Regions from separate parts of the Homo sapiens genome. Here all the other regions are linked to region 1. Evidence: promoter capture Hi-C in 16 types of primary human blood cells and fetal thymus (Javierre and others, 2016). All regions are on one chromosome and are shown on one strand. The core of a region is centred on a gene start or on the middle of the fragment in contact, and the rest is flanking DNA. Distances in the headings are between cores, read along the strand shown. Region 1 holds the start of FAXDC2 (fatty acid hydroxylase domain containing 2). Region 2 overlaps G3BP1 (G3BP stress granule assembly factor 1). Region 3 holds the start of CLINT1 (clathrin interactor 1). Region 4 overlaps SPARC (secreted protein acidic and cysteine rich).

The links. Contacts are between HindIII fragments. The CHiCAGO score rates a contact against its expected background, and 5 or more counts as called.
Region 2: a contact is called between a fragment that was not itself captured here and the fragment with the promoter of FAXDC2 in region 1, in 2 of 17 cell types (erythroblasts and naive CD8 T cells). The highest score is 6.8, in erythroblasts.
Region 3: a fragment that was not itself captured here is called in contact with the fragment with the promoter of FAXDC2 in region 1 in 2 of 17 cell types (naive CD8 T cells and naive CD4 T cells); the score reaches 6.4 in naive CD8 T cells.
Region 4: a fragment that was not itself captured here is called in contact with the fragment with the promoter of FAXDC2 in region 1 in 1 of 17 cell types (M0 macrophages); the score reaches 5.1 in M0 macrophages.

What each region holds. Positions count from the first base shown.
Region 1 is chr5:154,848,328-154,855,441 of GRCh38, forward strand. FAXDC2 (fatty acid hydroxylase domain containing 2) reads right to left here and starts at 2,276. Exons shown (of 9, transcript NM_032385.5): 1 at 2,156-2,276. The HindIII fragment of the contact is 21,500 bases long and covers 1-7,114 here.
Region 2 is chr5:151,774,979-151,781,974 of GRCh38, forward strand. The region is part of intron 1 of G3BP1 (G3BP stress granule assembly factor 1); the gene reads left to right. Among named protein-coding and RNA genes, the nearest start is that of G3BP1, 6.5 kb to the left of the region's middle. The HindIII fragment of the contact is 3,564 bases long and covers 1-3,071 here.
Region 3 is chr5:157,852,704-157,860,536 of GRCh38, forward strand. It overlaps CLINT1 (clathrin interactor 1), which reads right to left and starts at 6,442. Exons shown (of 12, transcript NM_014666.4): 1 at 6,227-6,442. The coding sequence starts at 6,267. RefSeq lists enhancers at 6,072-6,653, 6,491-6,730. The HindIII fragment of the contact is 223 bases long and covers 4,787-5,009 here.
Region 4 is chr5:151,673,410-151,681,111 of GRCh38, forward strand. It overlaps SPARC (secreted protein acidic and cysteine rich), which reads right to left. Exons shown (of 10, transcript NM_003118.4): 2 at 2,723-2,792; 3 at 1,203-1,265. The coding sequence starts at 2,779. It overlaps CLMAT3 (colorectal liver metastasis associated transcript 3), which reads left to right and starts at 3,536. Exons shown (of 5, transcript NR_109873.1): 1 at 3,536-3,638; 2 at 5,811-5,927; 3 at 6,247-6,347. The HindIII fragment of the contact is 5,714 bases long and covers 1-4,819 here.

The DNA.
Region 1 (7,114 bases), core at 1,026-3,525:
TTGCTCCAAACTCCACATGGTTTCTGGCAAAATCTAGGCTTCTTAACACTTTGCCTAGTGCTGTATGTATTTTGGGAATAGCATAACTTCTATTTCATAAGAAATGACACAGGGAGAGGGCAACTGACCCAAAGATTAGAACTCCCCTTACTTCAGCCTCTGCTCTCAGACTGTATGCTAGGAAAAAGCTGAGCAGTCGACCTCCAGGGCTGAGGAGACTGACCTGTAATGTAATTACACAGTTTAAAGCCTCTGGTGAAGAGGGTTTTGAGGAGCTGCTATGACTCAACATCTGTACTAATCTGAGGCTTATATAGAAGATAGAGTGGCCGATATTCATTTAAGAAGATGAAATGCGGCCAGGAGCGGTGGCTCGCATCTGTAATCCCAGCACTTTGGGAGGCCGAGGTGGGCAGATCACCTGAGGTCAGGAGTTTGAGACCAGCCTGGCCAACATGGCGAAACTCCGTCTCTACTAAAAATATAAAAATTAGCCGGGTGTGGTGGTGCACGCCTGTAATCCCAGCTGCTCTGGAGGCTGAGACAGGAGAATCGCTTGAACCTGGGAGGCGGAGGTTGCAGTGAGCCAAGATCATGCCACTGCACTCCAGCCTGGGCGCCAGAGCAAGAGTCTGTCTCAAAAAAACAAAAAAAAACAAAGATGAAATGCGGCTGGGCACGTTGGCTTATGCCTGTAATCTCATAACTTTGGGAGGCCGAGGTGGGTAGATCACCTGAGGTCAGGAGTTGGAGACCAGCCTGGCCAACATGGTGAAACCCCATCTCTACTAAAAATACGAAAATTAGCTGGGTGTGGTGGCGGGCACCTGTAATCCCAGCTACTTGGGGGGCTGAGGCAGGAGAATCTCTTGAACCCAGGAGGTGGAGGTTGCAGTGAGCTGAAATCGCGCCACTGTACTCCAGCCTGGGTGACAGAACGAGATTCCATCTCAAAAAACAAAAAAAACAAAAACAGAAGATGAAATGCATGAAAGGAAAGGTTAAAAATGATTCCCATGGGCCAGTTTTAGTAATACTCTCTTCACTCCTTTTGCTGCATGGTACTTGCACCCTTTGAGCTTACTGTTCTGCTTGATTGCATGTCCATGAGGCCGAGAATCTGCCTGTCTTGTTTACCACGAGATCCACAGAATCAAGCCCAAGCCTGGCATGTAGAAGATACTCAAGAAAGATTTGCCGAATAAATAAGAGATACACGAATCAAAAGCATTGCTTTTTGCCCTCAAAAAGTGTTCAACATTTGCTATGGAACATTTTAGCACCATTCCCTTGTGCTAATTACTTTCGTAACTAAAGTTAGAAGCTGATGCTCAGTGCATCTGTGTTTTAGCAAATTGAATTGAATCTGTATATCCCACTCAAAGAAATTTAATTGGAATTGCACATGAAACTGAAGCAACCCACAAATCAGCATCTTGTCTTGCTTGCCTTAAGCCCCAGAAGGTCCTGAAAGCCACTGTTCTATTGTTCATCTCCACCTACACACTTTACTGTATGCCCTTTACTCAATAACCTTCGTGGAGTGTTTCCATAGGTACTATCAAGCCACTAACGATTTCACAACTGGAGCCACTGTTGGTAAATCCAAGTATGTTGCATCAAAACAGTTTCAACCTACTTGTCTAGCTCATAGCCCACACATCTATCCAGAGACTTTAAAACTGTTGTATTTTGCCCCATACCTTCCTGGTGATGGCAGAGTAGAGATGAGAAGCAATTAGGCAGCAGTTGCTTCCCAACAGTCTCTTCCAGTTTGTTCTGCCTCTCATTTGAGTTCTGAATTAGGAGTTGCTCCTTTACAAATGGTTTTAAAGTCAAACAATTACTTGTCCATTACAATCACCTGTCAATTGCTAGAAAAATTAGACTACTGAGGAGGTAGATGGTACAAACACAGGCAGAGGATACAGACATTAGTAAGAGACAAGGAGGCGACTGCACTACAGCAATGTCCTAGGACAAATTCTAACCCTGCCATCTAACCCTGTTTAGAGGCAAATCTAACCCTGCCATAAGTAGAGAGGACAGGGTGGTGGCAGAGGTGGGAAGAGTGTTGTTTTGCCCTTACTTTAAGTGAACCTGGACATGTCCTGACCTTTGCAAACACCACCCCTCCCCCGTAGTTCCCACTTACCTCTGCAGTGGGCTGTGTCCAAGCTGCTGAGGTCCTTGCACAGGTCAAATCTAAGTTCTCTTCCCTTTCAGCCCCCGCTTTGGTGGCTGTTGCTGCTGCGGCTCTGCTGCAGGCTAACCTTGTTTTTGCTCGGGTGGGAGGCTGGCCATGGTGATCTCATTACAGAGCTGCGTACTGGCTCGGACCAGGCACGTGATGAAAAAAGTTTGGGTCTGTGTGGGCTGGAAACAAAACACCCTTCTTTCCAGAGGGCATGTCCTTAAAGCGGAAAGGGAATCTAAGCTCAAGCAGGAACTTGAAAAACGTGCATTTGGCCAAACTCTGGGCTTCCCTCCCCCTGCCCCCTTTTTTTCTTTTAAAAAATTTTCTCCATCATCTGCAACTTAAGAAAATGTCGCTGTCCCATAGGAGGAGGCAGATTCAAGAAAAGATGTGGGTGTCAGATAATGGCAGGTAGTACAAGTTGATAAAAAGGTGACAGAGACCAGAGGATCTCATTTTCTTTTTTTTCATTGCTTCTTTTCCTGTGGAGGGCAGGCAAGGGAGGAGAGATGCATCAGCTATTTCTAGTGAGTCTAGATGCAGGAAAGGCATGCCTGTGGAGGGTAAATTTGCACTGTGATTGAAATAGGGGAACTTAGGATACAGGACCCATGACATGAAGTGAGGAGCACTTTGGAAAAAGAGCTGCTTTTAAATTTCTGAAAACTTTTTAAATAAGCAAATGTGCAAATGATATAAAATACAATAGGGTCAAAAGAATGTACAATGAAAAGTCTTTTTTTAATTTCTCCTCAGTCCCCTTTTTTTCCTCCCAAGAGACAACCTCTGTGACCAGATTTTTGTATATCCTTCCAGAGCTTACCTCTGTAAATAGAAACATGTGTAGGCCTTGTGCTTCTCCTTTAGCAACAGCACCATAGTATGTTTGTTGTGCACCTTGCTTTTTCCACTTAACAATCAAACATGGAGATTGGCTAGGCATGGTGGTGCTCACCTGTAGTCCCAACTATTTGGGAGGCTGAGGTTGGAGGATCACTTGAGCCCAGGTATTTGAGACCAGCCTGGGCAGCACAGGAAGACTCCTTTCTAAAATAAACAAAACTCAGAAACTTGGCTGGGCACGGCGGCTCACATGTATAATCTCAGCACTTTGGAAGACCAAGACGGGAGGATCACTTGAGGCCAGGAGTTCAAGACCAGCCTGGGCAATGTAGCAAAACCCCATTTCTACTACATATACAAAAAATTAGTAGAGCTTACTGGCACATGTCTGTTATCCCAGCTACTGGGGAGGCTGAGGTGGGAGGATGGCTTGAGCCCAGGAGTTGGAGGCTGCAGTGAGCTATGATTGTGCCCTGCACTCCAACCTGAGTGACAGAGTGGGACCCTGTCTCTAAAAAACAAAACAAAATAAAAAATGCCGGGTGCAGTGGCTCATGCCTGTAATCTCAGCAATCTTTGGAAGGCTGAGGCAGGAGGATTTCTTTTTTTTATTTTTTGAGATGGAGTCTTGCTCTGTCACCCAGGCTGGAGTGCAATGGCATGATCACAGCTAACTGCAACCTCCGCCTCCTGGGTTCAAGCGATTCTTCTGCCTCAGCCTCCCGAGTAGCTGGGACTACAGGTGTGCGCTGCCAGGCCCGGCTAATTTTTGTATTTTTTTTTTTTAGTAGAGATGAGGTTTCACCATATTGGCCAGGCTGGTCTTAAACTCCTGACCTCATAATCTGCCCACCTCAGCCTCCCAAAGTGCTGGGATTACAGGCATGAGCCACCACCGTGCCTGGCCTGGCAGGAGAATTTCTTAAGCCCAGGAGTTAGAGACCAGCCTGGGCAACATAATGAGGCCCTGTCTCTAAAATAAATAAAACTGTCAACAACAAAACATGGAGACTGCTCCATATAGTACCCTTAAGAGCTGCCATGTTCTGTTTAATGGCTGCCTCCCGTCCCATTGTATAGATGTGTCATACTTTATTTGGCCAATAAAGGACCATGTCTTCCTCATTTTCCTTGCCTAATTCGTTGCACAAAGCAAGGGCTCAGTAAACATTCAATGCTTGCTCACAAATTAATTACATTTTGTACAACTTGTTCATGTTTTTCCTCATCTCTCCTTTCAGAGATACTAATTTTTTTCAATATTCCAGATATTGCAGAATGTCTATATTTTCCAGCTGACCAAGTCTATCTTGTGCACTGAACAAACCTGTGCTACCAGACTTCCAAGACTCACTTTAGTTTGGCTCCTCTCAGATGATATTATTTCCTATTCCCTCCTACTTTCTATTTTTTAATTTTTTTATTTTTATTTTTGAGATGGAGTCTCATTCTGTTGCCCAGGCTAGAGTGTAGTAGCACAATCTCGGCTCACTGCAACCTCCGCCTCCTGGGTTTAAGCGATTCTCCTGCCTCTAAGCGATTCTCCTGCCTCAGCCTCCAGAGTGGCTTGGACTACAACAGGCGCCTGCTACCACGCCTGGCTAATTTTTTTTTTTTTTTTTTTTTTTTGTATTTTTAGAAGACTCAGGGTTTCACCATGTTGGCCAGGCTGGTCTCAAACTCTGACCTCAGGTGAGAGTTCTGAGGTTACAGGCATGAACCACTGCACCTGGCCTATTTTTAAAAATTTCTTGGCCGGGCGCAGTGGCTCACGCCTGTAATCCTAGCACTTTGAGAGGCCGAGGCGGGTGGATCACGAGGTCAGGAGATCGAGACCATCCTGGCTAACACGGTGAAACCCGTCTCTACTAAAAGTACAAAAATTAGCCAGGCGTGGTGGCGGGCGCCTGTAGTCCCAGCTACTCAGGAGGCTGAGGCAGGAGAATCGCTTGAACCCAGGAGGCAGAGGTTGCAGTGAGCCGAGATTGCGCCACTGCACTCCAGCCTGGGCGACCGACAGGGCGAGACTCCACCTCAAAAAAAAAAAAAAAATTTCTTTAGACACAGGGTTTCACTCTGTCACCCAGGCTGGAGTGCAGTGGCTCAACTATGGCTCACTGCAGTCTCAACCTTCTGGCCTCAAGTGATCCTCCCACCTCAGCCTCCCAAGCAGTTGGACTACAGGCACACACCACCATGCCCCACTAATTAAAAAAAAACATTTTTGGAGAGACAGAGTCTGGCTATGTTGCCCAGGCTGGTCTTGAACTCCTGACTCAAGCAATCCTCCTGCCTCAGTCTCCCAAATTGTTGGATTACAGGTATGATTCACTGTGCCTGGCCTCCTTCCTACTTTCTAATGCCAAGCATCACTGTCATGTGCAAACATTTATTGTTCACTTACTATGATGTACAGAAACTTTTTTTCCTATTTCCTATTGTCTCCATGTCCATATCTTTGCTTACGCTAATCCTCTCACCTGGAATTTCCTTCCTGTTCCTGTCAAGTATTGTGCCTCCAGTTCTTTTCTCTCTCTCTCTCTCTCTTTTTTTTTAAGAGATGGGGTGTTGCTATGTTGTCCAACCTTGTCCCAAAATCTTGGCCTCAAGTGATCCTCCTGCCTCAGCCTCCCAAAGTGCTTTAGCCTCCCAAAGTGCTAAGATTACAGGTGTGAGCCATTGTGCCCGGCCTAATTCTTTTCTTCTTGAACTTTTGTAGTTTAAGTGGTCAACACTCCCTGGAGTAGCAGGTACTTTTTTTCCTACAATCATTTCATATAGGGTCTTTATGTATTTCCATGGCAGTAATAACTCTGGCACTAATAACACTGGTCTTCAGTAAATAGTTGATTGCTGAGCAAGCCTTATAGAGAAGAGCATCTGTCTAGTGAGAAGCTCTCCAGCCTTCCTGGGTTTTCTCTCCATCCTATCTTTTTTTCTTTTTTTTTGTTTGAAATGGAGTCTGGCTCTGTTGCCCAGGCTGGAGTGCAATGGCATGATCTTGGTCCATTGCAAACTCCACCTCCCAGGTTCAAGCGACTGTCTTGCCTCAGCCTCCTTAGTAGCTAGGATTACAGGCACCTGCCATCATGCCCGGCTAATTTTTGTATTTTTAGTAAAGACGGGGTTTCACCTTGTTGGCCAGGGTGGTTTTGAACTCCTGACCTCAGGTGATCCACCTTCCTCGGCCTCCCAAAGTGCTGGGATTACAGGCGTGAGCCACCACGCCCAGCCAGCTGTGTGGTTCTTAAGGGGTCCCATTCATTTTATAACGAGTGTTTCTCAATTTTGTTTATTTATTAATTTTTTTGAGATGGAGTCTCTCTCTGTCGCCAGGTTGGAGTGCGGTGGCGTGATCTTGGCTTACTGCAACCTCTACCTCCCGGGTTCAAGCAATTCTCCTGCCTCGGCCTCCCGAGTAGCTGGGATTACAGGCGTGTGCCACCACACCCAGCTAATCCAGGGGTTTCACCATGTTGGCCAGCATGGTCTCGATCTTCTGACCTCGTGATCTGCCCGCCTTGGCCTCCCAAAGTGCTGGGATTACAGGCGTGAGCCACCGCGCCTGGCCTTCTCAATTTTCTTAAACTTATACTCTCCTGCTGGGCGTGGTGGCTCAGGCCTGTAATCCCAGCACTTTGGGAGGCCAAGGCGGGCAGATCACCTGAGGTCAGCAGTTCGAGACCAGCCTGACCAACATGGAGAAACTGTCTCTATTAAAAATACAAAATCAGTCGGGTGTGGTGGTGCATGCCCGTAATCCCAGCTACTCGGAGGCTGAGGCAGGAGAATCGCTTGAACCCAGGAGGCAGAGGTTGCGGTGAGCCGAGATCGCGATATTGCACTCCAGCCTGGGCAACAAGAGCGATACTCCGTCTCAAAAAAAATGAAAAATAACAACAACAACAACAACAAAAAACAAAAACGTATACCCTCCCAAATGAGATTTGTTCGAACCTGACTTTCTATAGTTTGCAGCTCAAAAACAATAGGGGCCAGGAGCAGCGGCATGCACCTGTAATCCCAGGCACTCAGGAGGCTGAGTGAGGAGGATTACTTGAGGCTGGGTGCCCA
Region 2 (6,996 bases), core at 40-2,539, 3.1 Mb before region 1:
AGGTCAAGTTGCAAGCCAGGTGATAGGGTTAAGAGTAGGAATAATTCACACACACGAATAGTGTCTTAATATTCTGTCTTACAAGGTGGAAAGCAATTTCAAAAAAATTGCCCTCACAGCCTGTAGCTTAGTAAATAAGGTCTTTAGGCGACTTTGTGATAGAGTCCCTCTTCTGTCAGGTGGCCAGTCTGTCATGTAATAAGTTCTTGGTATGTGTGTTGTATCTTAGGTACTTAATCAAAAGTAAAGATTAAAGATGATTGACAGAAATTTGGCTTCCTGGATGGTATACACATCTACTTAGTAGGGATGTAATCTTTGGTGGCTATTAACTTCACTGGCTATATAAAGCATCATTATGTATTTGTGTAACCTTTTGCATATTTAGAGAGTGCTTTCACACATCTTTGGTATTACCATACTTTTACTAAAAAGTGAATTGGAGCTCTGAAACCGAATTGTCAAAACTATTTTGAAAAGCATGTGGTACCTAATAGGGTACTATAGCCAGCTTATTTCCTTAATTGAAAAATCTTAGAGGGATTTTGAATCTGGAATGTATGAATGTGACACCTGCCTGCCCTTGCAGGCTTCTCCCATATGCTGTTTATGCAAAGCCATAGGCTGTGCCTTAAGTACACCCTTGTTTCTGCACTGAGGTTGCCTAGATTTCCCTGGAGTGTATCCACCTGTCTTGATCTGTTTAAGAATTTTGCGGATGAGCATTAGTATTAACTGTAACATATCTTTTCACGTGATGAGAAAGAACAAAGATTTTTTTAAATTGTGAACCTGAGTAGGTTTTAACTTTGGAGTGGGGAAGGGATACACTAAGATAAAAGATAGTTGTTAAGTATTCTGATTCCTGAAGTTTTTTTTCTTTCAGGAAAACAGTATTTTTGAGATAAAGTAAGATTTGTGGAAGAGTTGCAATAGAGAGGTCTTGAATACCCATTATCCACTGTTAACATCTTATGTAATCCAAGTACATTTAACAGAACTGAGAAATTAACATCGATAAAATACTGTTAATGAAAGACTTTATTTGGATTTCCTTAGTTTTTCTACTAATGTCCTTTTTCTGTTCTAGGATCCAGTCCAAGATGCCACATTGTATGTAGTCTCCTGATCTGTGTCAGTTTCTGTCTTTCCTTTTGTCTTTCGTGACCATGACACTTGATCTCATTTGGATTTGATGTTAAGGATTAGACTGAAGTTACAGATTTTTGGGGGAAGAATACCACAGAAATTACCCTTATCACATCAGATTGGGGGTCCATAATATATAACTGGTTGAATTTAACCTGATGATTTGGTTCAGGTGGTATCTGTCAGGTTAGTGTTTTTTTCCCCTTTAGATACTATTCCTTAGATGCTAGTCACCAAGTCCAGCTCACACTCAAGGAGAGAGGGGAATTAGGCTCTACTTTCTAGAGGGAGGAGAATGTGAATTTGTGGAAGTATATTAAAGCTACTGTTATTATTTTGGGGGAGATGCTTCGAAGCCATGGAAATAAAGTTCCCCTCCTTAATTTTAGCATTTTAATGGATCTCGTCTGCAGCTATTATTACTTCGGGGTTCTAATGGTGATTTTTTTTATTTTCCTCATTCCTTCTACAGTATAAATTTTCTGTGAGGAAGATTTGTGTATTCTTCATGTTTTTTCTTTTTTTCATTTATATCACTATAGACCACGGATATTAATTTTATTCTTTGGGTTGTAATCCACAATTATCCTTGCTGATGTTTACTTATTTTTGATTATTATTTATTTTATATTTTTATAAAATATCGTCCAGGCTGTCTCACACTCCTGGGCTCAAGCAATCCTCTTGTCTTGGCCTCTCAAAGTGCTGGGATTACAGGTGTGAGCCACTGTGCTGGCCACAGTTTATTTTGTTGTTCATGTTGTTCCAGCTTTTTTTTTTTTTTTTGGCTCCTTTGTCCTTTTGACACTTCCCTATCTTATCTGTTTTTTAAAAGCATGTTTTTTCTTTCATTAATTACCAGGTATTTCAGGCTCATCTTGCATTTTGCCTGTCTCAGGTCCAGAATCAACCATTTCTCCAAGGAGGCGTCAGGAAGAATTGTGAAGGGAGGTGACAGGTGGTAAATGCGAAGAGTTTGGAAAAATAGATTGACAGTAGGCCCAGTGATGTTGATACTTTTCTTGCTCTGAGCACAGATGTTGGCTTCTGTATTCATGTTACTCCAGTTCTGGGAAAAGATTTTGTTTCTAAATTCCCACGATTTAGAGAACCAGATATCAAATGTTTGAATACATGACATAATCCTGAAACAAAATTTACAAAAATTTAATATATTCTCAAGTTAGTACACACAAACACTTGCTGTTTTTCCTTGGTGTTTTTGACAACTTTTTTAAAGTAAAAAGACCACTTAAATACTATCGTACTCAGAATTAACATTTGACATTTTGCATTGCCCTCTAAGACTCCTTTTTTTCTATACGGGCTTCCATTCCCTTCCTTCCAGGGATCTTTTTCACATCTTTCCAGGCTGTTTTATTGATGGGGAATTTTTAAAAATAGCTTTATTGAGGTATAATTGACAATAAACTGCATGTTTTTAAAATGTACTGCCTGATAATTTCAGACACCTTTTGTAATCCCAGCTTCTCAAAAGACTGAGGCAGCAGAGAGGATTACTTGAGCCCAGATGTTTGAGGCTGCAGTGACCTATGGTCATGCTACTGCACTCCAGCCTGGGCGACACAGGAGACTCTTAAAAGAAGGTATACCCATGAAACCATCACCACAATCAAGATTGTGAACCTATCCATTACCCCCAAAAGTTTTCTCATGTCCCTTTTCCCTCTTTCTTGCTTGTTCCTTCCACCCTTCTCCCTGCAGGAAATCCTTGATCTTTTTATCACTGTAGATTACTTTGCGTTTTTTAGAATTTTTTTGTAAATACATTATGTTCTTTTTTTAATTGCTCAGTGCTAGTCTGTTGTGTAGGCATATCACAATTTTTTGGTTTACCTGTTGGTGGGCATTGAAAAACGGCAGAAGCTGTGTGTTTCCAGCTTTTTGACTGTTACAAATAAAGCTTCTGAACTTTGTGTACAAGTCTTTGTATGGGTATACGCCTTTATTTCTCTTGGGTAAATGCTTAATAGGGGAATGTTTAGATCATGTAGTAGATGTATGCCTAACTTTTAAAGAAACTCCCTGTTTTCCACAGTGGTTGTACCATTTTACATTGCCACCAGCGATGTTTGGGGGGTTCCAGTTCTGCCAGTATGTTGGCTAACAGTGTGTATGGTCAGTCTTTTTAATTTTAGTCATTGTGACAGGTGTTTAGTGGTACCTCACAGGTTTTAATTTGCATTTCTGTAATTGCTAGTGATCAGCATTTTTCATTTGGCATTCATATAATTTCTTTGGCGAAATATCTTTAAGTCTTTTGCTCATATTTTATGGGATTGGTTACTTAATTATTAATTTTTTTGTTTTGAGACAGTGTTTCGCTCTTGTTGCCCGGGCTGGAGTGCAGTGGCGCCATCTCTGCTCACTACAACCTCTGCCTCCTGGGTTTAGGTGATTCTCCTGTCTCAGCCTCCTGAGTAGCTGGGATTACAGGTATCCACCACCACACCCGGCTAATTTTTGTATTTTTAGTAGAGATGGGGTTTCACCATGTTGGCCAAGCTAGTCTCGAACTACTGACTTCGGGTGATATGCCCTCCTCGGCCTCCCAAAGTGCTGGGATTACAGGCATGAGAGTACTTTATATATTCTGGATAGAGGTATTTTAAAAATTAGAGATATGGGTCAGGCGCAGTGGCTCACACCTGTAATCCCAGCACTTTGGGAGGCCGAGGCAGGTGGATCACTTGAGGCCAGGGGTTCGAGACCAGCCTGGGCAACATGGTGAACCCTCATCTCTACTAAAAATACAAAAATTAGTCGGGCGTGGTGGTGTGTGCTTGTAATCCCAGCTGCTTGAGAAACTGAGGCATGAGAATTGCTTGAACCTGGGAGGTGGAGGTTGCGGTGAGCGCCACTGCACTCCAGCCTGGGCGACAGTGGAAGATTCCTTCTAAAAAAAAAAAAATCAGTCAGTCAATCAATCAGGTAAATGCCTTGCAAATATTTACTCCTAATCTGTGGCTTGCCTGCGTGCCTTTTCATTCTTTTGATGGTGTCTTTGCAGGGCAGATGGTTTTAATTTTGAGGCAGTCTACGTGATCAATTCGCTTTCTTCTTCATTTGCTTTTGGTGTGTCTAAAATCTTTGCTTAGTGTCATGCAAGTTTTCTTTAGAAGTTCAGTTTTGGGTTTTACACTTTGATTACACTGAATCATTTTGAGTTAAATTTTGTATGTGGTGTGAGACATGAATTGAGGTTCTGGTTTTTTTTTGTTTTTTCCATATGATATCTAATTGTTTCAGTACCAGTTGTTGAAGAGAGTATACTTTTTCCACTGAATTGTCTTTGCACTTTTCTTGGAAATATAGTTGTCCATGTGGATATGTTAGTGAACTCCATTCTGTTTCATGGATCCATTTGTCTCTTTATGTCTAGCCTGTGTATCTATGTACGGTATCTGGTATTTGTGTATACTAAAAACACTTTTAAATATATGTAACGTTATCACACAGTACATATTTGGCAACTGATTTTTCTTTTTAATAATGTTTTTGAGTTATGTGCTCGCTTTCTGGCAGGCATAAATAGGGTGACATATGTCTTGGTTTGCCAGGGACAGTCCTGATTCACTTCAGTTAACCTGACACTATTAATAGTAGTTGTTTTCAATCTTAAAAGTGCTCTCATATGGTTGTCTTAGGTATAGAAGTTTCCCTAATGTGAATAAACCACAACTTAATATCCATTCCTTATTTGATGGACATGTAGATTGTTATCAATGTTATACTTTACAGATAGGGTGGCAGTTATTTGTTTTTGTCTTGTGTGAGTTTGTTTTGTCTTGGGTGAGTTTCTTTTGTATATGTACCTAGAAGAGAACTGCTAGATTTTCATCAGAGTGTTTTTGATTTTATTAGATAGTGCAAAATTGTTCTCCACTGTGGTTGTACCAGTTGAGACTTCATCTTCAGCAGTCCTGTAGGCTCTTTTTTTTACTTGGTTGCCAATGTTTGGTGTTGACTGAGATTTTAATACTTTGGCGCATCTCTTGTAAGGTATCTCCTGTGAGAAGTGATTTTATTAATTGCATTTTCCTGGTTACTTACTCTGTTTTGTTTGCTGTCCATTTAGTACTTTCCTGAGAATTGGCTGCTCCATTTCATTTGCCTGTTTTTCTCTTGGGTTACTCTTTTAGTGATTTGTATGCAGGTTTATATACATTCTACTAATCTTTTATTATATGATATTATATTTTCTTACTATAAAACTGGCACTGAAAATGGGCTATGAAGGCATTTGGCTACTTTTTATTTTGTTGGAGTGAGCTTTGCCATTAAAAATGCAGGTGGAGTATGGGCTGCCTTTATGTTTCCCTGCCCGTCTGTTAAAAATTGGAGGATAATGCTCATAGTTATTTCCCCCTCCGCCGCTAGCTGATGGAGTCTTGCTCATTCGCCTAGGCTGGAGTGCGGTGGTGCGATCTTGGCTCATTGCAAGAGCTCCGCCTCCCGGGTTCACTCTGTTCTCCTGCCTCAGCCTCCTGAGTTGCTGGGACTACAGGCGCCCACCACCATGCCTGGCCAGTTTTTTTGTATTTTTAGTAGAGACGGGGTTTTACCGCATTAGCCAGGATGGTCTCTATCTCCTGGCCTCATGATCGCCCACCTTGGCTTCCTAAAGTGCTGGGATTACAGGTGTGAGCCACCGCGCCTGGCTGATAATGCTCATAGTTCTTTAGACCCTTAACATTTTTCTGTTAACTTCAGCACAATTATTGATGGGGAGTTTCTTTGAAGTTGCTTTGCAATCTGGAAACTTGGGATCAAGTGGAAAATTTGAAAGTTAATGTAGTACAGTTGAACCATGAACAAACGTGGGTATGAACTGCTCAGGTCCACTTGAGCAGATTTTTTTCAATGAATATATTGGAAAATTTTTTTTGGAGATTTGTAACAATTTGAAAAAGCTCACAAACTGAATAGCCTAGAAATAATAAAAAAAATTAAGAAAAAGGTATTTCATGAATGCATAAAATATATGTGGATACTGTTATTTACTACTGTAAAATATACACAAGTCTATTACAGATTTATTACAGAGTTAAAATTTATCAAAATGAACCCACACAAACACTTTGAGACCATTCAGGGCACCATTTGCAGTCAAGAGAAATGTAAACAAATGTAAAGATACAGTATTAAGTTATAACTGCATAAAATGAACTTTAGTATATACTGTACTATAATTTTTTTCCTAGCCACCTCCTGTAAATATTGCAATGTGCTTGTGTTGCAAGTATCTGCTTACAACACTGTGTGATGCTAATCATCTTTATGTGAGCAGTTCTTCTCTCCAGTAAATTTGGATGCAGTAAAAAGTGATTTCTCTTCAATGAGTAGTTTTCATCATGTTTAGTACAATACTGAAAGCCTTGAATAACACCATGGGACCCATACGAAATATCACTAATGATGCTGAAAGCACTCCCAAGAAACAGAAAAGTTATGACATTACAAGGAAATATTAAATTGCTTGATCTGTACCATAGGTTGAGGTGTGCAGCTGTGGTTACCTGTCATTTCAGAGAGACGATTTGTCTTTTAAACAGACAGCATAAACATATACAATACTGAAAATGTATTTTGCAAATGATTTTCTTATTTTCTTTAGCTTTATTGTAAGAATACAGTATATAACCTACAAATAGTTAAATGATTGGTTATATTATTGGTAAAGCTTCTGATCACCAGTGTGCTATTAGTAGTTAAAATTTTGAGGAGTCAAGTTATACACAGATTTTCAACTCTGGGCTATCCATGCCCCTAATTCTCACCTTGTTGAAGGCTCAACTGTAGTTCATCCAAAAGGTAGATACAGTT
Region 3 (7,833 bases), core at 3,648-6,147, 3.0 Mb after region 1:
CCTAAGATTTCAATCCAGTTCTCACCTCTGAACCACTAGCTATTCCCACATTTATTAAACACCATCTGGAGGCACCTAAGTATAGTGGCAAAGTATATTTGGCTAGCAAATTATTATAAAAATACATAGATGGACAAACACACATAATTAAGCTAAACAAGGAAAGCTCACATGAAGCGTTAACCTGAAAAACACAGAAGAGTAAACAGTAAAATATGTTGTCACCAAAGGTAGCTGAGACTAAAAAGTTAACTGTATATAAGAACCTTCAAAAGTACTAAAAATGTACTTTGAATCTGTGAAGTGATCTTCATTAAAACAAACATTGGAAACAAGTAGGAAAATAATATAAGCATACAAAAGGCCAGAGGCAATGGCTCATGCCTGTAATCCCAGCCCTTTGGGAGGCTAAGGCAGGCAGATCACATGAAGTCAGGAGTTCGAGACCAGCCTGGCCAAAGTGATGAAACCCCGTCTCTACAAAAATTAGCTGGGCATGGTGGCACATGCCTGTAATCCCAGCTACTTGGGTGGCTAAGGCAGGAGACTCGCTGGAACCTGGGAGGCAGAGGCCAGTCGCAGTGAGTTGAGATCACACCATGGCACTCCAGCCTGGGAGACAGAGCAAGACTCCATCTCAAGAAAGAAAGAAAAAAAAAAAAGTCCAGAAAAAGACTCAACTGTAGAGCCATATTGTGAAACCTTGGATTACTAGCAAATGGCACTCAAAATAAAAAAGGCTAAGTACTTTCAATGGACATATCAGTAAACAGATGAAAAACTGCTTTGTAGGCCGGGCACGGAGGCTCACGCCTGTAATCCCAGCACTTTGGGAGTCTGAGGCAGGTGGATCACCTGAGGTCAAGAGTTCAAGACCAGCCTGGCCAACATGACGAAATCTCGTCTCTACTAAAATTACAAAAATTAGCCGGGCATGGTGGCACGTGCCTGTAATCCCAGCTACTCAGGAGGCTGAAGCAAGAGAATTGCTTGAACCCAGGAGGCAGAGGTTGCAGTGAGCCAATATCGCACCATTGCACTCCAGCCTGGGCAACGAGAGCGAGACACCATCTCAAAAAAAAAAAAAAAAAAAAAAAAAGAAAAACTGCTTGTAAACTAATACTAAAGTGTGCAAGAAAACATAAGAGGCAGTTAAGTGCTTTTTAAAAGCACCCTGACAGTAGTACTAAATAGATTAAACTACAGAAAATTACCCCTAAGAAATGCTAGCAGAGATAAACCAAACTCATCTTTCTTTGGAATTAAATTCCTAATATCTACTTGTGTCCAGTTACTAGAAAAGGAGGAGAATAATTAATTCATTGTTTCAGCAATAACAATTACTTATAATCGGTTCAAAGAAAAGTTGACATGGGAAGACTAGAAAGCTGACAACTATCTTACTATCTCTGCTTTCAAATTCCAAGAAGCAAACTGAACAGAGATTTACTGGTAAGATAAAGAAAATAAAGGGGATGATATCTGAAGACTGAAAGAAAAGAAAAGAAAAATAATCCATTCAAGTTGTAGCATATTTGTAGTGGCAAGGTTCTTGAAGGCAGGTATTGTATGTTTCGAGTTCAGAAAATAGAGTACTAGACCAGGCGCAATGGCTCCCGCCTGTAATCCCTGCGCTTCAGGATGCTGAGGCAGGCAGACTGCCTGAGCCCAGGAGTTCAAGACTAGCCTGGGCAACATAGCAAGAACCCTTCTCCACAAAAAAATTTTTTAAAATTAGCCACGCATGGAGGCGCAGCTGTGGTCCCAGCTGCAGTGTGCATGTTTGCATCACTGTGCTCCAGCCTGGACAACTGAGTGTGACCCTGTCTCAAAAATAAAAAATAAAAAGAAACCAGACTACTAATCCAATAAATAACAAATGTATTGCCTGTTAAAATAAATGAATATACTATTCTTTATAAAAGCAAAAGTTTCTCCCTCTGGAGTCAGGAGACTAGAACAGCAGTTTCTACAGCTCTATTACATTATCTAAACATTTAGGAACTAAAACCAAGCAAATATACATCAATAAAAATCAACTTATGAGGGAAAATGCAAGCTATGCTTAGGAGAATAACTTAAAATGGACTACCCATAGCTGTTGCCTTAGGACCTTAGCCAGAGCTGTTTGAATCACTATCAAAAAAAGGGCCACTGAGGCTGGGCAAGGTGGCTCATGCCTGTAATCCCAGCACTTTGGGAGGCCGAGGTGGGTGGATCACCTGAGGTCACAAGTTTGAGACCAGCCTGGCCAACACAGCAAAACCTCAGCTGTATGAAAAATACAAAAATTAGCCAGGCATGGAGGTAGACGCCTGTAATCCCAGCTACTCGGGAGGCTGAGGCAGGAGAATCATTTGAACCCGGGAGGTAGAGATTGCAGTGGGCTGAAATCACGCCATTGCACTTCAGCCTGGGGGATAAAGTGAACTGTCTCCGAAAAAAAAAAAAGGCGGGGGGGGGGGCGGGTCACTGATGAAAGAGATTTACCACTAATATTACTCCTTGCAAGGAAAGAGAAGGATTCGCTGAGCTTGAACAAATAAGTAGCAGTTTTGATCTACCACTACCATGTCACCTTCATTACATTCCTCAAATCTAGAGAGAAAATAGAACTGCAGCAACTTTCAATTTTACCATGTATAGGATGACAAAATATAAACATGTCCAATTTTATTACAGCCACAAGTAAAGATAGGTCATAGGATGACAATGATTAAGCTAGTGCTCCTAGTTGGTGGGAATGGTGCCACTTATCCTTTCCTGCCACATCGCCTTTTATGCAACTTGACGAGTGGGAAGATACTGGCATTCCAAGCTCTGGCAGGCCTATGGCTTTATCTGCTTCCCTCAGTTCCACAATGTTCTGCAAAACAAATCCCTCTACTGCCACCAGGAGGTGCAGCGATTGTGGAAAATATACCCCCACTTCCAGAAAAAGTCTTCAAGGTCTCAAAAGCCAGTGTTTGAAATACATCATTATCACTTTGAGTAGCTGAGATGGGTGGATCACCTGAGGTCAGGAGTTCAAGACCAGCCTGGCCAACATGGCGAAACCCCGTGTCTACTAAAAATACACAGATTAGCTGGGTGTGGTGGCAGGCACCTGTAATTCCAGCTACTAGGGAGGCTGAGGCAGGAGACTCGCTTGAACCCCAGAAGTGTAAGCTGCAGTGAGCTGAGATCTCGCCACTGCACTTCAGCCCCGGGAACAAGAGCGAAACCCCATCTCAAAAAAAAAAAAGAAATACATCATTACACTTAAGAGCCGCTACCATACTGAATCTAAGAGTGGCTCCAGGAAACACATTTTTCAGAGTACATTTCTTTTTCTGAAGTAAAACCTCACTGGGTATCAATATACACTAAAAGTCCTAGTCTTCCTGAGTCATGGTCTTATTTATTGCATAAAATATTTAAGTATAACATTTATTGATTACCACTTTTTAAGAAAATTTCCCTTTTCAGCCTAAATTGTCTACAGAGGATAATGGCTCCAAAATTTGTCTGCTATTGTAAAAACTAGTTCCAACTATTTTTCCTTGATGGAAATGCATTTCTCCAATAGCCATCAAAGGTGGAAAAAGTCTTACTCTAGCCAGGTCCCCTCATTTTACAGATAAGGAAGGCAAAGTCTGGAGATTCATGTGATTCTGCCTCAAATCATACATACAGCTAATTAAAAACGTAATGCCAGAATATGAACCAGATAGTTAAACCCCTAACCTTTCTCTCATAGAAGCCCTCATTCTATTGATCCATCTATCTGAATAGCCCTTAATCACGTCACTGCTTCTTCATTTGCAAGTTCCTTCATCATTTTATACCTCTGATAATCAGACCAACCATTCTATGGATGCACGTCTATTATGGCATTATAAGGTGCACAGTCTAACAGATCCACGGTTCTGTAAGATGCTTACATTTGGGGGGAAGAATTTCTTCTCTTCTTGCCAGTGAAAAGATGAAAATTAAAATCCCGAGTACTCATCAGTAAATCAACCTCATGTTCTAATCTTAATATGTGTCAGACACCCACAAAAGCCTTAAAAAGTCTTTGGTGACAACATTCTTCTATGTTCTTGAATAATTTGGTTCAAGTCTACATCCTAAATTGGGTAGTAAAAAGATAGATAATATTTTTCAACAATAGCTTTTCCTTTAGATAACTACTTACATGGCAAATTTAACCTAAAGCACGTGAAGATTAGTAACAAGTGTGATAAGCAAATATGAAAGGTACAACAATAGTAGGAATATTGCCTCGATTTCTGTCTTACGAACAATGTACAGCCTCTTCAAATTTTTGAGTACCACAAATTTGGTCCTCTAAGAGAACAAGGTGTTTCTTAATGGTTTTATTCTTCTGACCTCTGACTGAGAAATAAGGAGGCAGTGCCAGGCACGGTGATGCATGCCTGTAGTCCTGGCCACTTGGGAGGCTGAGGTGGGAGGATCACTTGAGCCCAGGAGTTGGAGGGTGCAGTGAGTTATGAACACACAAAAGAATGAGACCCCATCAAAAAAAAAAAAAAAAAAGGTAGCTTTTAGTCTTCTTTTGGCCTTTAAAAAACTATTTAAGTTGATATCCTAATCTTTACACAATATACTAAAAAAATGCCAATGAACCTAGATCTGGAAAAGATCTAGTTTATTTCATCTTCGGTAAGCAAAAGCAAAGAATATATAAATAGCTAAATAGTCCGAAATAAATAGCTGAAGCCTTAATAGCCAAATGAGTTGTTATAAAGGAAAATTATTAAAGCAAATCACTTTTCAAACTTGAAGCTTCTTTCTTAAAGAGGTTTATTTCACTCTAAATGCAAAACATTTGCTAGTTTCAAAAGTACACTAATATAAACATATTCTGTTAAGGGCTTTATATGCAATACAATCCCTTAACCCTTAAGCCTCACAACAACATTCTAAGGTAGGTATCGTTGCATTTTCATTTTGTACCAGAGAAAACTAGGGCACTGTGAGGATAAGTAACTTCCCCAAGGTTATAAAGCTTGAACCCAGCTTTGCAGGTTCTGAAACCTGTGCTCCTTAGGCACTCTATTGCCTTCTTGGTAGCACAGAAAATATAAAAATATGGTCAAGCTCTAAGTTCTATCTGATGTATCAGACAAGGCACTGGAAATTACTTTGTTTCCTGGTGTCAAGAAAACAGTTTGCTATCTATACTTCCTGATTTTAGGTTAGGTGGGTGGCACAAATCAACTGTTTTTCTCACCACACTTATTGCATAATCATTAAAGCCCCAAAGGAAGAGGACTGCTTAAATTCTTAAACTTTATTTCCTGCTGGCCTAGAAGACCTTACTTAACCACTGTTATACCTGATATACTCATTTTAAAAGTTAAGGTTTTCCTTGTGCAAGTAAGAGACTAAAGTTATTTCAGTCTTAAAGGAAATCAACTACGTACTGGTCGTTTTACCTGCTTTTAAAAGCAGATCAACAGGATATAAACCTGGGTTGTTTTTTTCCTTAAGAGGACATTTCTTAATGACCTCTTAATTTAATCGAATGGAACAAGTAGCACACCAAAAATGATGTGTAGTGGAAAAAGAAACAGAAGAAAAAATCGCAAGAAGTCATATAGTGATCTACTTTCACTAGTGTTAGAAAAGCAAAGGATGAGTGTCTTCTTGAGTAACTTCAGGCTGACCACAATAGCCACTTGTTACACTACTACCACCCACTCCAACACTTCAGGTTCATTAGGAATTAAGAGGAGGCAAGGAAGATAAAAGACACACCCCAACCAGGTCTAAGGTCTCTCCGTACTACACCTTGAGGGACACAGGGAACCAGTGCATTGTGCCCCCCACCCCCAAACCTTCCCTGCTCCCCAGGAGGCAAAGCCCACGGCCTGGGGCCAAGACAGTCCTCCGGCCAGGGCAGTGACCCAGCGCCAAACAACCCGCCCCTTATGACCAAAGCGTCGGCACCCAGGGGTTGGAATAGGGGAAGGGACGGGAAGGCCTGGAAAGGAGAGAAGGGTGGCCAAGAGGATGTTTTTTTTTAAAACGAGGGAGGGTCCCTCCCCAGCCTCGCCAGCGGGGATGAGGCCCGGGGCCGGGAAGGAGCGGGCCGCCGCCATGATGGGGCTGGCAGAGCCAGGGGGCGTGACGTGGGCAACCCCTAGCCCAAGGCCAGCTCCTTCTCCCCCTCCCCCCTCCCCCACGTGGGCCTCGGCCACAACTGCCCCCCGATACTCACGCTTTGTCCACCAGCTCGCGCACCTTCCACATGTTCAACATCGTGCCCCGCGCGGGACGGTCCGCCGCCTCCCTCTCCTGCTCCCCACGGACCCCGGAACACTTCCGTACCGGGGCAGTTCCAGGCCGGGGTCACCGCCGCCCGCCGCCTCGAACTCCCCCAGTCAGCTCCTTCCTTTGCCACAGCAGCGGCGCCGCCGGTGACACGTCGAGACGCGGCAGCACAGGCGCTGCGTGGAGCGGAAGTGTCCGACTTTCCGCCGCTGCGCGCGGGGCACGCCGGGACTTGTAGTTTTCCCTGAGTGCCGAGCTCGGCCGGTTGAGTTGGGAGAGCTGAGAGGTTGAGTTGGGAGAGCTGAGAGGAGTTGGGATGGTTTCTCTTAAGCTTTCCCAGTCCCCGGCCCCAGACCTACCGAGCCAGAAATTTTGGAGGTGGGGCCCAGCGATCTGTGCTTTTACAAATCCTCTAGGTGATTCTGATCACGCTCAAGTTTCAGAACCACTGGTGCAGGGTCTAGTCACACTCAAACACTTTTCAAATGTAAGGCAGTATTACTATGTTATTAGTAATGATTATACAGAAGTATGATTGGCATACGCATTCCTCATCGACAGACACATCGCTGTATTTATTTCCCAATGCCCAAGTACACTTAGATCTCTAGGCCTTAGTTTCCACCCCTGTAAAATTGAAGAACTTGTATTCTAAATCCTTTTCCGCTCTAATTCTATGATACAATGTTTTATATTTAGACAACTACCTGAAATCCTTGTTAAATGCTTTACTATAAACCTCAGAAACTCAGTTCACACTCCACGGGAAACTAAAAAGCCAACATTATATATACACGCACACATACACATACATATGACAGGTTTGTGTTTTTTAAGGATAAATATGCACATTGCTTCCATTGCTTTGTTGCAATGGTTGTCATCACTTCCTTCTCTACTTACTCATTTTTATCAATGCTCATGTTAAAGCTACAAGCAACCTTAAGTTTCATTTGATCCATCTGCTGAAATTTTACAGTTCTTTTCATTCTACAAATATTTATTGAGCATCTTGTATGTTCCAGAAGTGGGGAATATAGTTAAAGACCCAGCTCTCTTGGAATTCAAACGTAATTGGAAGAAACATATAATAATCAAGGAAACATTTAAGATAATTGCATATAGTGTAATTGCTTAGCGGGTTCTTTCTGCCCACTTTACAGATAAAGTCAATTCACTGCGACCAAGTCATTGCAGTGAAGAGTTTGACATGAGGCTGGCCATGCCACTTGAGAGACAGAGTTATTACTCAAATCAATCTTCCTGAACATTTGGAAGCTAGAGTTTTTCAAAGATAGTTTGGTGAGCAGAGGGTTAGGGCATGGGTGCTGCTGATTGGTTAGGGATGCAATCAGAGGAGTATGGAAAATGGTTCTCCTTTGCTGAATCGGCTTCTTGATGGAGGGCCAGCAGAGGAGTGGCTGGTCTGGGTGGGGTCATCCGTTTGTCAGAAATGCAAAAGCCTGAAAAGACGTCTTAAAAGGCCAATCTTAGGTTCTACAATAGTTCATTACAGGCCAGGCACAGTGGCTCACGCCTGTTATCCCAGCATTT
Region 4 (7,702 bases), core at 713-3,212, 3.2 Mb before region 1:
GGAAAGAGAGTGTGAAAGGAAAATATACCTTGGACCCCAAAATCACTAAGCTAAGGGGAAAAGTCAAGCTGAGAACTGCATAGGACAAACCTGCCTCCTATTCTATGCAGTCATCCCTCTGAGGCTCACCTGAGACAAACGCTTATCTGATTGCTTCCTCTCCCCTATTGTTTATGTAAAAATGCAGATTCACTGAGCCAGATTAAATTGTGTATTCAGGGGAAGGCTGATCAAGGACTCAAAGGAATGCAACCATTTGTCTCTTATCTACTTCTAACCTGGAAGCCCTCACTTCTCAAGTTGTCTTGCCTTAGCGAACTCAACCAATGCACAATTTAGACATGTTGATTGAAGTCTCGTGTCTCCCTAAAATGTATGAAAGCAAACTGTACTCCCGACCACCTTGGACACATGTCTCAGAACTTCCTGAGGCTGTGTCACAGGCACATTCTTAACCTTGGCAAAGTAAACTTTCTAAATTGACTGAGATCTATGTTCACAAGAGGGTGTCAAGCCTCCACCCCTGCCAGCCACACCCAAGCATCTCCCCTTTCCTCTGTGTGTGTGTGTGTGTGTGTGTGTGTGTGTGTGTGTGTGTGCTTGTTTGTTTGTTTGTTTTTGAGATGGAGTCTCATGCTGTCGCCCAGGGTAGAGTACAGTGGCGAGATCTTGGCTAACTGCAACCTCCACCTCCCGGGTTCAAGCGATTCTCCTACCTCAGCCTCCCGAGTAGCTGGGATTACAGGCACCCGCCACCACGCCCAGCTAATTTTTTGTATTTTTAGTAGAGACAGGGTTTCACCATGTTGGCCACACTGGTCTTGAACTCCTGACCTCGTGAATTGCCTGCCTCGGCCTCCCAAAGGATTACAGGGATTACAGGCATGAGCCACCGCACCCGGCCTCCTCTGTTTTACGTTTGCAAAAACTGTGGGTAATCATGGAAGAACAACTGTTGCATAGCTTAAAAAACAAAAATTTTAAGGTCCTGGTCCCCAAACGTAGGGTTCCGTTGAAGGTTTGGGAAGCATTCAGGAGTGTGTCAGGATGTGGGATATACTCAGGGTTTGCATCTATGCTATGTGTGTACAGGGAGACGAATGCCCCACTCTAGCATTGAGACCCACAGCATCCGCCCTAATTTCTCAGGGCACAGATACAGGTAGAGAGGGGCTAAGGGGCTGCGGTCACTGCCCACATACCTCAGTCACCTCTGCCACAGTTTCTTCCACCACCTCTGTCTCATCAGGCAGGGCTTCTTGCTGCTGTTGGAAAGAGAAAGTAGCGTTCAGAGGGGTCAGGAATAAGGCCAGCTTCACCTCCAAAGTGCCTGTGGCCTCGGATACAGGCTAGGGGAGCTTGGAGAGCAGCTTACTGGAGATCCCCAAAGTTGTGCCTCATGGACTGCCATGGTGAGGGACAGAACAAAGAAGAAGCCAGTCATGTGAGCACCGTGGAACACTCAAGCAGCTCCCATTTTATATATTTTATATCCTAGGTGTCTACCTAAGATTTAGCTTGGAAAAGTATTTCTGCTGCTTTGAATTCTTATAAAGTCTGAAAATCACTGATCCAGACCAATTCTTTCACTTTACAGATAGGAAAATTGACATCCAGAGGGGATGACACTGTGAATTTTAACAGATGTCATCATCTTCCTCACAGTGTGATATTATTAGTAGTATTATTAGGCAATTTTTCTTGCCATTTCAACTTGGAGTAGGAGGAAGCAAGAAAACACACAACTTTGAGGCCCTTAGCTGGCTGGAGCTGCTTCAAAACTTAATGCCAACTTTGAGAAACTTTTGCCTCCATCTACCAGCCTGATCAAGATTGCCAGGGTCTGCCATCACTCCCACTTCTTAGTAAACAGAGGATGAGGGGATCACAGGTTGAAAGAAATTGCACTTTTTGCCTGCCCTGTTTCTTCCTCCTCTCCTTGTGAAGGCTTCCAGATGAGCTGTGGATAACTACTCCTGTCCCTGCATGCAATGCTTCGAGGAACTGTCTGTCAATCAAGGGGCCCCACTCTCACCTGGCCAAGAAGCTGGCTCAGGACCCAAGCTCAGCCAGATTGGCTCTCATTTTTTGAATTTATAAAAACCTTCTTGGCACATTCTCTCAAGATGTGAAAATTGCTGGAGTTGATTCATTCAGACAGCAATATCTCAGAGACTGTCCATTAGTTCTTAACTCCCAAAGCCTAGAGCTGCCCTTTTCCAGTCCTCCCCAAGGCCTTTAATATTATAATCTACCTCTGTATCTTCCCCTCCTTCCCCAATTTAGTCAGATTGAACTGTTGCTTACAACCAAACAACCCTCACTGTTTCAGAAGCCAACACATTCCTCTCTCTATAGCTTGAATCTCTTCTAATACCACCCCTACCAGAAATCCCCCACATCCTGTCTCCTGCCTGCTTGAATTCCTCATATGACAAAGAGGTCATTTCCTTCTAAAGCAATCCTAGTTCATTGCTGGGAGGCTCTGACTACTAAGAAGTTTATCTAACATTACATGGAACTCTCTCTTCTCTGATACCTCCACCCAATGGTCCTCATCCCAGTTTTTATCCCGAGCTTCCTAACTTAAGAAAAAAAAAAGACCACTAACTTGAAATGGGGAAGTCCCTGTTCCCTTTCAGCATCCAGGGCTGGCAGGCTCAGAACCCCTGGTGCTAGCGGTAGGAATGAAAACAAGAAGACATGATATTTAGGTACTTACAGGGGCTGCCAAGGCCCTCCCGGCCAGGCAAAGGAGAAAGAAGATCCAGGCCCTCATGGTGCTGGGAACCCTATGGGGAGGAGAGATTGAGAGTTCAGTGAGGGTGAGACTTCCTTATGGAGATTTCCTTCTGAATTCCTGATATGTGCAAGATAATGTTAGATGGTACAAGTTAAATGATAGTGAAAAACATGAGGAGGTTGGTTCCATTTAATATTCTTTCAATTCTGCTTATATGAGAAGAAAGTCTCAGTTTGGTGCCAAGATGTCTTAAACACCTCCTTTATACTCATCTATCTCCTTTTTTAACAAAAAGAGAATAAGCCTCCAGCTCAGAGCTTCCACAGGAAGTTATATCCAGCTGGAACTGAATCAAGTTGTTTTGTTTTTTTTATGTGTTTGTTTTTACAGTTTCCTTCTATTTATGACAAAGGTACACAGAGTTTTTTCCATTTATGGTAGTGATATAAAATCTGCTTTTGTAATACATTTATTAAAGTTTTTGCAAAGTGATTCAACTAAGGTGATGGGCTAACTAGTTAAGTTTGGGCAATGCCAAACCAGATCATCTTCAAGGTCCCTTCAATCCCTGATATTCTAAAATTATTTTTTTCCCTAAACCCAATCTCTCCTCTTCCTCCTCTGTCGCCTCCTCCCCCTCCTTCCTACTCCCTCTGCAATGGGAGAAGTTAATAGGCAGGAACTTCTTGCCAGTTTGGGACAATGAGATCCACATTCTAAAACAAAGAACAATAGTCTTGGAATGTAACCCATGGAAACTTGAGGGTGGCCACATTTTTCTCCATTCTACCCAGAAGAGACAGCACTTCTTTAGGTCCTGTACGGAAACCATCCAGATGCTTCCATGTGTTGCAGAGGGGATGTTAGCTGAGATCTAGAAAATACCTCTGTTCTGGTAACTGTTAAGGCCTCATTCTCTAAATGCCAAGCTCTAGACTCTAATACTCTCATGACTATAAGGGATTTTGGAGCAGTATCTCCTCTGAGGATTCAAAACTAAAATGCTATTCCTAACAGAGGCTCTGTGGTGGAGACATTTCATTTCTTGCACTAACTAAATGGCTTTTCATTCTCAAGTGACTTTAGAAAGTTCTTTCTTTTACTGATCTAAATGTGCCTCCCTCAAACTTTCTGATCTGTCTACCCCATCTCCCCTGCAGCCACAAAGAACAAACCTGCTCTCTCTACCCACAAATAACCTTCCATCAGGAGCAACAGTGGCCATGTCTTCCCTCTTTCTTCTCCCAAAACCTCCCTGTCAGGCTCATCATCCCTTATTTCTTCCAAGACTTCTCAACTGACCAAATGGTGGTGGGAGGTAACCCGGCATCATGGAGAAAAATACTCAGCTTGAAATTAAATGCCAGGGGGTCTTGTTCTACCACAGTAGTATCAAGTCTTTTGGTCTCTCTAGACCTTGGTTCCCCCATCTATCAATTGAAATGGGTAGACTAGGTGAACTTTGAAGTGGCAGCCTCGGTCCTTAAAATGCTCTTAAGACACCCCAAGCACATTCTGGTCTTGACACATATGGTCTCCTCTGGGATCATATGTCTTCACTTGTACTATAGCATTTGGGAAGCAGAAACAGGCAGAGGAAGAGCCCACTTCATAATGGTCCTTTCTTGGGCTTAAAGAGACACAAAACCTCACCCCCTATTGCACAGAGTGAATGAAGTAAAACTAACAGAAATGTAAAGGACCTGGGGGTTTGGTATTGCTTCACAATAACCCCAACTTCCAGAGGAGTCTAGTCTTCCCTTTTGAGGCAGCTTGTGGAATGTTCCTCCCCTCACACAGTTGTTCACTTGTTCCCCAGGCTTAAGTGGAAAAATCTCCCTTCTTGCTTCCCCTTTTGGAAGACGCAAGATAAATAACTCCTGCATGTGGCTTGGGACAAATGGAACAGAAAAGAAAACATCAAGGAAGGACTTGTCTGAGATAGTTTGAGGTTGAAGGATCAAAGTGAAATAGCAGCTAAAACAAAACAAAACAAAAAGTTACCCTGTCTGAGCTATAATGACAGGGAAGTCATGTTATTGAAGAAATAGCCCAGCTAGGACTGGAAATGTAGTAAGCTTCAGATTAGAAAGACAGGAAGACAGACATTTCCCTGAGTCTGCGTCCTTCATATGAGCAGAGTAACCGCGCTCCCCTCTGTGACCAGGGGAAGGTTTCGCTGGGCGGCTCTTCTGTCTGTCCTGCCTCCTCATCTTCCTGAATTCCTTTTCCAGCTGCACACTCACCCTCCCTGCCACCCCCATCCCTGCTGTTGCAGCCAGAAGAGAAAAATAACTCTAAGTCTTATAGTGCTGCTTCATAGTTTCTAAAGCACTGTCACATAACACTGTCTCCTAGAGCCTTCTGACAATGCTGGGAAGTAGGCAGACAGGCATGGAAGGGTTCTTAGTCCCACTGTCCTAATGGGGAATCTGAGGTTGAGAGGGAGGAAGCACTTGTCCAAAGTCATGCAACAATTCAGGCCCTCTCCAAATAGGCAAGCGTTCTCACTCATGGAGTTGGGGTGAGCCTAATAGGAATTACGCTCAGACAAGTGGGAGTGGGGGAGAAATGCAGAGAGACTGTTAAGAACAGAACGCAAAATCTTGGAATACACCTTAAAAGTTTTGGAAGAAAACTGTAAACACAAACACAAAATCTGGGTCCTGCCCAGCACCCGGTGCTACACCACCAGTCCAAGAGCACTTTTCCCCCAGATGATGAGATGGGAGGGAAGGGAAGCGGCTGAACTATTCCAGATGCACAGCCATCTCCCTGCCTCCCCACGAGATACCTCTCTGAGGCTCTCTAAACTACCACTGACCAAAGAGCCCTGTGTCCATCCTGCAAAGCTAATGGAGTATAACAGTCACCCCAGCAAGGTCAGAACACAGTATCAAACCCCAGCATTCAGAACTCACAGCTGTGATCCTTTGCCAATCAAACCTAGGTGTAGCGTGCCTGGCGAAAATTTAAATTCCCTTCATATAAATGACCAATATTAAACAAAAACTCCCTCCTTTGTATTTCTTTAGTCTGTGATGATGCATACATTTATCATTTTCAGGGTGTTTTCATAATCCAGCACCCCACTGGGGGCTCAAGTCACATATTTCTGCCCAATAGTACAGATGAGAAGACCAAGGCCTAGAGGAAAGGAGAAAACTGCCAACGGCTAACAGCAGTGAGTGAGTGACTGGGTGGCAGGGCTAGGGTGAGAACCCGTGCAACCCTACCCCACCACTGGTATGTCTCTACCTCTGCACACTATTTCCCTTGGCAGCTACCCGCTCCCAGGTGGTCACCTGAATGGGGCTCAGTTGGGCCTTGAACTGGCCTGAGTTCCTGGGAAGGAAAATGCCCAGGGCCAGGGGAGGAAGAGAAGGCATATTTCCCTTGGCATGGTGGCCATCAAATGCAGACAGTTTTAGCCCCCTCCCAGCCGCCACTGCCTCCTGTTCCGTACATCGAGTCCCTTCCTTTTGCCTTTATTTGCTCTGGAGACTGCTGAAAACCCGTCCTTGGCTGCCAGCAGGACCTGAAGCTGAGGTCACTTCTCTCTCTGGAAAGACTCTGAGGATGGAAAAGTACAGCCAGCCCCCAGGTTTGTCCCTCAAAACATAAAGGGCCTCCTTTGGGCTCTCCTTGGACGTTAAAAAGCCACTGAACGTTAGAACAGGGGGGATACCTCAGAATCATAGAATCATGGACTGTGGGTCTCAGAATGATAGACTTAGGATGTGAAGCAAAGAAACTGAGTTGCCATCATTAAATCTTATTTGGGTGGAAAGAACTTATGGAGTAATGCAACCCAACAGGACTTCCCAAGATGATGAACACATTCTATATCTACGTGGTCCACTATGATAGCTACTGGTTACAAGTGGTTACTGAATGCTTGAAATGTTGCCAGTGCAAATGAAGAACTGAGTTTTAAATTGTATTTCATTTTAACCAATTTTTTTATTTAAAAATTTTATGCAAAAGGACTGAGGCCAATCCAAAATATCTTACTTAACCCATACCTTGTTGAAATACTGCAATAGAGAATAGTGGAAAACATCTTTTTTTTTTTTTTTTTTTTTTTTTTTTGAGACACGGTCTCCCTCTGTCACCCAGACTGGAGTGTGGTTGGCGCAATCTCAGCTCACTGCAACCTCTGCCTCCTGGGCTCAAGTGATTCTCCCATCTCAGCCTCCCGAGTAGCTGAGATCACAGGCACTTGTGACTACACCCAGCGAATTTTTCTTTTCTTTTCTTTTTTGTAGAGATGGGGCTTCATTATGTTGCCCAGGCTGGTCTCGAACTCCTGACCTCAAGCCATCCGCCCGCCTCAGCCTCCCAAAGAGGTGGGATTATAGGCGTGAGCCACCATGCCCATCTATTTTAATCAACTTAAATCTAAATAGCCACATGTGGCTAGTGGCTACCATGGTAGACAGAGTGATAATAAACTATGAGGCAGTATAGCATAAAGGTAAGCTCATAGGCTCTGGAGCCAGAATATACAGGTTCAAATCCTGGCTCACCACTTAGTAATTGTATGACCTTTAGAAATCAACTTTACCTCTTGGGGCCTCAATTTGTTCCCCAATGTGTAAAATGGAAACAATAACATACCAATCTTTAAAGGCTCATGGGTGATTTACACAAGAGAATCCAAATAAAGAGGTAAGCAATGTTGTCGTTGGGAAGAGCATCTTATAAAGTCCGAGGTTCCCAGAATCTCCATCCCCCGAAAGAATTCAGTGCAAAATTCCAGTGCTTTATAAGCCCAGGGAGAAAGGGGTGTTTGGGTGGAACAAAGGACATATTGCCCCTGTTGGTCTGGGTAAGTCCAGCCTCCAGAGGATACAGTGACGAAGACCAGGCCCAGGGCTGGCCTCTTACTTGGGCAGCTGATACCAGCCAAGCATCTCACTCTCACTATTTGGCTTGGAAACAAGGGCTCCAAAAACA